Linked DNA regions of Homo sapiens: all the other regions are linked to region 2. The links are contacts of gene promoters, found by promoter capture Hi-C in human tissues and cell types (Jung and others, 2019). All regions are on one chromosome and are shown on one strand. Each heading gives the region's core, a stretch centred on a gene start or on the middle of the fragment in contact. The rest is flanking DNA. Distances are from core to core; before and after follow the strand shown. Region 1 has its middle 33 kb from the start of PRSS35. Region 2 holds the start of PRSS35 (serine protease 35). Region 3 has its middle 22 kb from the start of ME1.

What was found. Contacts are between HindIII fragments. The study calls those that stand out against the background at their distance.
Region 1: a contact is called between a fragment that was not itself captured here and the fragment with the promoter of PRSS35 in region 2, in 2 of the 25 tissues and cell types used here (bladder and thymus).
Region 3: a fragment that was not itself captured here is called in contact with the fragment with the promoter of PRSS35 in region 2 in 4 of the 25 tissues and cell types used here (mesendoderm cells, small bowel, stomach and 1 more).

The regions. Positions count from the first base shown.
Region 1 is chr6:83,477,675-83,480,714 of GRCh38, forward strand. No RefSeq gene overlaps it. Among named protein-coding and RNA genes, the nearest start is that of PRSS35, 33 kb to the right of the region's middle. The HindIII fragment of the contact is 3,233 bases long and covers 163-3,040 here.
Region 2 is chr6:83,510,567-83,513,872 of GRCh38, forward strand. PRSS35 (serine protease 35) reads left to right here and starts at 1,968. Exons shown (of 2, transcript NM_153362.3): 1 at 1,968-2,128. The HindIII fragment of the contact is 4,019 bases long and covers 1-2,894 here.
Region 3 is chr6:83,451,079-83,454,133 of GRCh38, forward strand. No RefSeq gene overlaps it. Among named protein-coding and RNA genes, the nearest start is that of ME1, 22 kb to the left of the region's middle. The HindIII fragment of the contact is 6,664 bases long and covers 1-3,055 here.

The DNA of each region.
Region 1 (3,040 bases), core at 529-3,028, 33 kb before region 2:
GAATATAGCTACTTAAATCAGCTTCTGGTCTTACCACTAAAATATAATCACAGATATCTCTTTATAGGTTACAGCTTTCCTCTTGTAGTACTATTAATGAGAGGCTCATGGTACTAATATAGCCATACACTAAAATGAGGAAATACAAAACAGGAACAGGATGAAAATACCTGCTATCTCTTTTCTTTCTTTCTTTCTTTTTTATTATGCTTTAAGTTTTAGGGTACATGTGCACAACGTGCAGGTTTTTTACGTATATATATCTTTTCTATACAACATCCAATTACTTTTTATTAAAAGCCCTTCTGATATAAGTCACAAGGAAAATAAGGAAATACAAGGATTAAAAGGAAAGTCATAAAATGTCATTCTTTTCTATTTATATGCTTTTCTATAATAAAATATTCAATGAATCAATAGATAATGGTCCTGCAAATCAAATGTATTCCTAAAAACCAGCAACAAATGGTTCAAAATATAATTTTTGAAGATATGTATTATAGCAATAATGCATATAAGGTATCCAGAAATAAATCTTTAAGACTTTTATAAAGAAAAATAAAAATTTTGAGAGACATTAAAGAAACAAATGCCCATGAATGGGAAGTCTCAATAACAAAGACATTAGTTCATCCAAAATCCAACAGGCTTTTTTGATAAAAGTTACTGAGTTTATCCTAAAGTTATCCATATAAATGAGCAAAAGGCCAGGAATTGCCAAAATAATTCTGAAGAAGAATAGGGGACTCATTCTTTAAGATATCAGGAATCTTGCATCCAAAAGATATAGTAATTAGAACAATGTGGTTTAAGACAGAGTAACGCTGTCTGAACCTGACCTCTTCTCCTTGAGGAATCTTTTTACCCTTTATTCTGTGAGTAATAAACCTTATTTTATATCTATTGGTGCCTATGTGTCATTCCTTCCAACATCCCTATAAATTCTGGAGTGGGGACTGCTAGTGTTCAGCCAGGGACACCATATGCCCAAATAAAACGATGCTATTCTCAAAACCATAACAATGAAAGATAGGGGAAGAAACATCTTTCAGAAAGTTGCAAACACCATGATGCCATTTATGAAAAGTTTTATAAACATGCAACACAATATTTTATCTTTATTTATAGATATATACACATTAGAGAAAGTATAAAAGCACATGTGAATGAGAAACATCAAATTCAAGACAGTGATTACCTCTGGTGAAAAAGTGAGGGGAACAACAGGATTGGGGCAGAGTACACAGGGGTTTCATATGAGTCAGGAATACTTTCTTTTCTTTCTTTCTTTGAGATAGGGTCTCACTGTGTCACCCAGGCTGGAGTGCAGTGGCAGAAACACAGCTCACTGCAGTCTCGACCTCCTGGGCTCAAGTGATTCTCCCATCTCAACCTCCTGAGCAGCCGGGACCACAGGTGCCACCAATGTTGGCTAATTTTTAATTTTTTCTGTAGAGACAAGATCTCCCTATGTTGCCCAGGCTGGTTTCAAACTCCTGGGCTCAAGCGATCCTCCCACCTCAGCCTCCGAAAGTGCTGGGATTACAGGTGTAAGCCACTGTGTGCCCATCCAGGTGTAAGCTTTCCTATGTTAGGGTCAACTGATTTGGGACCTTAATTGCATGTTCAAAATTTATTCATAGCAACACATAGATTGATGTTTGAATAAGTGGAAGAAAGTGTATGTACACCAGGACCCAGAAATTTGGAAGGCCAAATGGTGCCTACCACAGACTAGGACTAGGGAGGGTATAGAATAGAAGGTCAATGTCAGGGGAATTATTAAGTGGCGTCCACATATGTTTAATGTTAAAGATTGGCTAGTATAACTGGCTCATGATGTTCTGCATGCTTAAAAATTAAGGGAAGAGAACAAAGGTCATGAAAATCTCTATGACCTTGGCAGACTGAAGCTCATTAAGTAATAGTCTAGGTACTGCTAAAGATAGCTACAAGCAGGTCAGAGGAAAACTAGTTTGCTATTGGAACCAGTTATCTGAGTTATCCATGCCATTGTAAGTGATAGGTAAGTACAAATCTTATATAAAGACAAATGTAAACATAACTAAACATAAATATAAATAAGCATTTTAAAAAACCAGAATATTTATAAAGTAGAATAAGGCAGAGACCATTTATATTTGAGAGAACTATATTTTATATCCAGTACACATATAGACCATGTTTCCTTATTTTATATGTCTATACAGCAGCTAGCCTTATTTTGTAATACATGGTAAAAGGAATAAATCATTGTTAATGTTTAATGAGTAATAATGACAGCTGGACATTTAAAACCCTCCTTGGTACGGTTCATCTTATCTTTCCAGAATTATCTATTATTTCTTTCCTACTTTTACTTTGTATACCAACAAAACAGAATGGCTCATTTTTCCTCCAAACCTATTGCTACACCTTTGTTAAGTGTTTACCTCTAATATTCTCCACTTCATCAGTAGCTATTGTTTCTACCTAGCCTTTAGGGCCCAAATTAAATGTCCCCTCCTTTATAAAGAATTTTTTTAAATCTTTCTCAGCTCCCATTGTAAATAGTCTTTCCCACTTGAACTCCCTTAGCATTTTGTTCAAATGTATAGTGCATGCCACTTTCTACCTTATACTATGGTTATCTGTATTTATGACATAGCTCCTCCTACTTGACAAGGTCTTCCTTGAGCAGTAACTCAGACTTTTTTTATTTCAGATTACCTATGGCGCCGGGCAGAATACCCAGCACTAAAAGTGCTTAAAAATTGTGAATCAATCTTTTGAATGACTGTTTCTCTTTGTCTTTATCTTAATGCCAAAAGCAAGGCAAAATAAGTCAATATTATTATGGCTAGGGAAAGACCTTAACTACCTCAAAGAGACCTTAGTTACAATTATATTTCACAGAATTATGTCTCAAAACTCCCCAAAGTTCAGTTTCATCATTGCACTAAGTAAACCCTTGGTTAAGCATAATCTTCACACATGCACAGACTTGCATCATACCTGTGTGACACAAGCCAGGATCGCATCAATTGCCAAGGGAGGTAAG
Region 2 (3,306 bases), core at 718-3,217:
TGCACTCCAGCCTGGGTGACAGAGTGATAATTTAAAAACCCTGTCTCTAAAAATTTAATGAATTAAAATTTTTTAAAAATAAGAAGCCAGAAACCTAGAACTAGAGAAATAGTAAATACGAAGCATCAGGACCAGATGAAGTAAAGCGATAAATTTTGAAAACAGTCAAATTAATGATAAGACAACCTGGAATAGATCCAGAAATAGGGTACAAAAGGGCTTGGGGTCAAAGGCTCAAGAAGGGGGGCATGAAAATGAAAGAGCCCTGGAAGTTTGCTTTCTGTGATGCTAGTGGAGAATGCTGAATAAAGTGAAGGAAGCAGACCTGGGTCCACAGTGAATCCTTCTGGATTTATACAGTGTTAGAATCCCAAAAATGTTTGAGAGCTGCAGGCCTTGGAACTCCTCCAGCTCAACCATCTCAATTTACAGATGAAAAAGCGGAGGCCCAGGGCACACAGCTATTTAGTGTCAGGCGGAATTCCCATTCTGAGTTCTGGACTTTCTCTGTGACTTCTCCACACTCCATCTGACTAGCAAACTTTTTAGTTCCACGTCTAATGCAGCAGCTACTATATGCCAGGCCCTGTGGTAGATGGTGGTGATTCAAAGATGCATATGACTATTATGATCTAATTGGTGACAGAGAGCTTCAGAACTAATTCTAACTGGTAAAAATTACCAATAGATTTTAATATATGGGTAAATGCTTATGTTAACAATGCTAAATGAGAAAACAGCAATGAAATTGTATATATAGTTGGCCCTTGGACACATATTTGAACTGCACAGGTCCACTTATACACAGATTTTTTTTTTCACCCAAAAGCGGATAGAAAACAGTATTTTCAGGCAGAAATGCTTAAACAGAGGGCAGACTTTTCCTATACGCGGGTTCCCCAGGGCCCACAGCTGGACTTGGACTTGAATATGGGATGATTTTAGTATGGGGGGGCGGAGGGGAAGAGGGCCTGGAACTAGTCCGTTGAGTATAACGAGGGACAATGCTAAGTATGTTATAATCTCATTAAAAGTACACAGAACTTGAGATACGCAATAACCTACTAACGAACCAAGTGTTACAAGACATGCTAAGACCTTGTGTTGTAAGTACTTGTGCACTTACTCGATCTCCCTGCTTTAGGGCCAGGACCGAGTTTTTTTGTTTTTGTTTTTGTTTTTGTTTATGTATTCTCTCGTTGTATCAGTTCATCTTGCCCCAGACCTGTCACCCACTAGAATTTGTTGTTAAACAAATGAAGCTTCCTTTCTCATGTGGCCCCCACCCCTCTCCTAAAGGAGAATAAAAGGTCGAGAGAACGGATGAGGTTAGAATGCTGGTGGGACTGAGATGGGAAAGGACCTTAAAGGTTACTCGCCCAAAGAGGAAAACCAGCCTTTTCCCTGCAGACGGAAACTGACGCGCTCCCCCTGGAGGCAGCGCAGGATGCTCCCGGGGGTCCAGGCGTCCCAGCCTGAGGTCCCCATCCTCGTGTGCAGCCTGGGCGCCTGGTACAAGTCGGGGTAACCCTGAGGCTTGTGCATCCAGAGAAGCTAGGTCCCCGGTGGAGACTAGCTTGGGATAAGGTTGGGGAGACGCCCTCCGTTCTTCTAGATGCCTGGGGTCTCAACAGCAAGCAGTGAGGAATGAGACTCTTAACTGAACAACTCCTGAGACTGTTAAAGGAGTGCATACTATTACAGGGACAGGCATCCCCTGTGAACCTACTCATGAATTTTTCCTAATGCTTAATTCAGCTTGGGGGCAGAAATGCTGGGGTGAGACACGGCCAGGTCCGCCCCGTTCCTCCAGGGAACTCCCCTCTCCGCCCTCCCTCTCCGTCTCCTCTTGCCCACCTCCTCCTCCTCCCCTCCCCCCACTCCATCCCACCGCGCCCGCCCCTCGTCATCGCCCCCTTTCCCCTCCCATCTCCCGGCCGTGGTGCGGCGCAGCTCTCTCCCCCTCCGCAGTCTCAGTGGCGAGCTCTGGGTGCTGTGGCCCGGCCTTGGCGGGGCGGCCTCCGGCTCAGGCTGGCTGAGAGGCTCCCAGCTGCAGCGTCCCCGCCCGCCTCCTCGGGAGCTCTGATCTCAGCTGACAGTGCCCTCGGGGACCAAACAAGCCTGGCAGGTAAAGATGAAGCTCCCCAAACCCAACAACCTTAGAACTTAGAAATTTCCCTGAGAAAGGCAGGACCTACCCGAGGAGAGCTTCTTTGAAGGACTTTGAAGAAAGGGATCAAACTTGACACTTTCTTTCAGTCCTCAAAGAAACTAACCACCCTTCCCATAGGCAATTCTGTGTGCCGGCCTCTGCACAGTTTAATATTAACGACAACAATGTTTGCATTGGAATATAAATGGAATTCTTTCTGCTTAAGCAGTACCAGAGGGGACCCTCTTTATTTTTATGATTGTTAACAGATGCCATTGAGAAAGGTATGAAACGCATTCCTGAAAAGTCTCTTTGGCGGGGTTACTATGAAAGCTAGCCTCTCCCCTCTACCCTTTTATCAACTTGGCTGCGGAGGTCAGCAAAAGGAGCATAGGAAAACGTTTAGAAAATGAGGCGGCGAAATGAAGTAGAAAAGCTTTTGACTTGCTTTGAAATACTCTAGCTGAAAAAAAAAAGTGTGTGGGGTGGTGATGGTGGATGAAACATTGGCAAAATATTGACAATAGTTGAAGCTGGTGATGTGCACATGGGGGTTGTACTTTTCTCTCAACTTAATACTTTTCTCTGTGCTTTTGTGTAGTCTTGAAATTTTCTATAATAAAAGGTTTTTTAAAAAGTTGTAGAAACACTCCCGCTTGATTGCTCTGACATTTTTACACTGTCCTTGATTTGAAAAGAAGCTGCTTGCTGTGTCTAGGGGGCTTTCACCCCTTATTAACCCTTCTGACTTCTGAAATTCATTCTTATTTTATCCGAAGTACATTTGTCTCCACAGAGGATTATAAAAGTCATATTTTGCTGGCTGGAGAATTATACTTAGAATCTGGTTTATAATTTAGAAGAGAGAATGTTAAAATCCCTGCCAAATAAGACATGTAGGCTTGAAGGTAGAGGCCAAGTATCATATGGAATTTTATTTTTATTAGGAAATATTAGAGGAGTTCCTTTAGTGAGGGAAGTGGTAGATGTGGATACTGTACCCCATTTTTCTTCCAGATAGCTGGGAAAACTGCATGCTTTTAAGAAGCTTTTTCACGTTTTAAAATGTGAGACTGTTTAGCATATACTTGGCATACAGTATGTGTTCATTAGATGTTAAAATAAGCAATTGCTAGTGTGAGTTAATTTTCTCC
Region 3 (3,055 bases), core at 530-3,029, 60 kb before region 2:
GAAATCTGATACGATGAAAGAAGAAATGTGTTCATCAAGACCATGCCCATGCTTTTAAAGGAAAACTGGTCATTGTTTTAACAACCAAAAATGATTCTTAATCTCAGATGTCTCCCTCTTTCCTCAACTGAGCCTATGCAACAGCTTTACCTGCCATGTTCCAGCTCACTCTTGCCTTGAGATTAGCAACAGAGAGCTGGGAAGCAGGGAGAGGAGGACGATGTTATTAAGGTGATGACCCCTGCTTTTGCCTGCTTTACTGTCAAGTTTTAAAAAAAGACACAGATTAGGTTTTAGGCTAAGTTTTACCAAAAAAACAAAAAGAACCAAATTCCAATGTCAGATCTCCAGGGAAATAAAAGGATAAATATTCAAGTTGACCTGAACTTCTCAAGGTCAATGTGTTCTATCTATAAATTGTATTAAGACAATTATATCATGTAAGCATTTCTCTCTGAATAAGAACTAATTCTCTGCCCACACCCAGCAAAATGTTATTTTTTGTTCTAAATTTCTCTCAAAGGCAAATGCTTTCCCACACTCAGAAATGCATTCTTTGTCCTCTGAGTATTAGTTGTATGCCAAGATTCAAAGTTTAAATTCTAAACACTTTTGTTTAGTTTTTTAAGCATACACTATGGCAGAAAATTTTGCTTTTTTAAAGGTTTGACTGACTCAAATAATCACTATTTCTAGGGATTCTTGAGAAAATTACTTTTAAACTAAGAAATAGAAGAAATTTCACCAGAAAATCTCATTTTGATGAGATTATAACAAATATGAGGATATTGAATCAAAGGCCTGCATCCTTCTGGACCATTATTTTGCTACCATAATGTTAATACACTTATTAATATATTATTATTGCCCAGGTTGAGTTGGATTTAAATTAACAGCCCTGCATCAGCCTATGGGGAAGTCTCTAGTAGAATGACACACAGCTGTTTCATTGTCTTTACTCTTTAACATTTACCAACTTTTTAGATGAAAATATAGATGATATATTGTGATATGTATTTCTTATAATTTTCTTCCTAATTATAAAATTAATTAATGCTTAATACAGATGATTTAGGAAACACGGGATGGTGGTGGTGGGGAATCATCCATAGTAGTGTGGCTTTTCTTTTTCATTAGCAAATTGTATTTCTTGAATAATTTACCAAGGCTCTGAAATATTTTTATATTTGTCAGAATGTCCATTTCATAGACCTAGCAACATATTAGCTAAATTTGTGAATGACATGGAGATGAAAGGAATAGCTAGTATGGTAGAGGAAAGAATTAGGATTCAAAACCCTCCATAGGCTGGAAGAATTAGTTGAAACACAAGATAAACTGTAGCAAGAGTAAATGTAGGCCAGGCACAGTGGCTCATGCCTGTAATCCCAGCACTTTGGGAGGCCAAGGGGCAGATCACCTGAGGTCAGGAGTTTGAGACTAGCCTGGGCAACATGGTGAAACCCGTCTCTACTAAAAAATAAAAAAATCAGCTGGGTGTGGTGGCATGTGCCTTTAATCCCAGCCACTTGGCTGGCTGAGGCAGGAGAATTGTTTGAACCCAGGAAGTGGAGGTTCCAGTGAACACAGAGATCATGCCACCTCACTCCACCCTGGGCAACAAAGCAAGACTCCGTCTCAAAAAAAAAAAAAAATGTAAATGTAAAGTCCTGGTATAGAAACAACTGTCCCTGCATAGGAAGAAGGCAATGCATCAAAATAGGAGTTCCTGTGGAAAAGACTGGGTATTTCTAGTTGATGAAAACTTAGCCAGAATTGGGCTTTGATTTAGAATTGGGCTGCCAAAAAAGATAGTGTAAGCTTAGGTATCATCAGTGAAGTACAGAATCCAGAGGGAAGGGAAGAGGTGTTCTTACCATTTCCACATGGTTCAAGCTACACCTGGAGTATTGTTTTCAATTTTAGGACACATTTAAAGACGGCGTTAATAAAACATGAGCCTTCCCAGCTGAAAATTTGTGTTGAAATCATGTTATATAAGAAAGATGAAGCGAAAGAACTAAAGAGAAATATGATAGCTGCCTTCAACAATTGGAAAGAATTTTTCTGACCTGTTCAGAAACCATATCTAGAAACAAGGGGTAGAAGAATTGTCATTCAGATTTCAGCTTAAGTGACACTGCCTCAGCAGTGTCTTGCCTTGAAGTAGCCACCCAGTAATTAGTATATAACTGTTTTAGCCTTCTGTATAATAGGTATCATTATCTATTCACTTAATTTTTTTTCTGTAAACTTAATTCATTAATTTATTGTCTGTTGGTCTGTTTCTTCTCACTAGAACATAATTTTCCTGAAAGTAAGTTCCCCTCTGTCTTGTTCACAGTTATATACAGTACCTTGAACAGTACTACTATAAATATTTATTGAATGAACTAATTTATGGGAAAGCAGATTTTGGCTTAATAGAGAAAGAATTTTCTTTCTGTGGGGAAGGGGCAAGAGCTTTCAACCACTGAGGATGTTTTATGTTAACTAGTTTTATCTTCATACAGTTTGTCATCAGCCACTTTTTGAGCACTTATATGCTAGACATAGGCATGGAAGACACGGCTCAGAGACAGTAAGTAACTTTGCCCTAGCTCATGTCGTTGGAACTGAAAATTGTAATCCATCTTGTCTGTTTCCAAAACCACTGGGCTTTCTACTATACCATAAATAGAATAGGGGTTTATGATGATGAATTTTCCCATCACTGGTGGACTTTAGGCAAAGACTAGATGATCATTCATTGGGATACTAAACTATGCTAACTAATGGATTCTTGAATTGAGTGGGATGGTGGACTAGATCCAATTCTAAGATTCTGTGATTCTGTGATAGAAGCTGTCCATTCATGATAGAAATTCTATGACAGGATTTCTTTATGTTGGAAATAACAAAGAAGAAAAGAAACCTTTTTTGAAATTGTTGCTTGGAACCCAAGAATGTGAACTTACACAATTGCCAAAATGTTATCCCTTAATCCTAGCTGGATGGTGGACTGAAAGTGGGCTCAGAAATATACTTGCATTTCAAATACAATAGCTCCTACAGT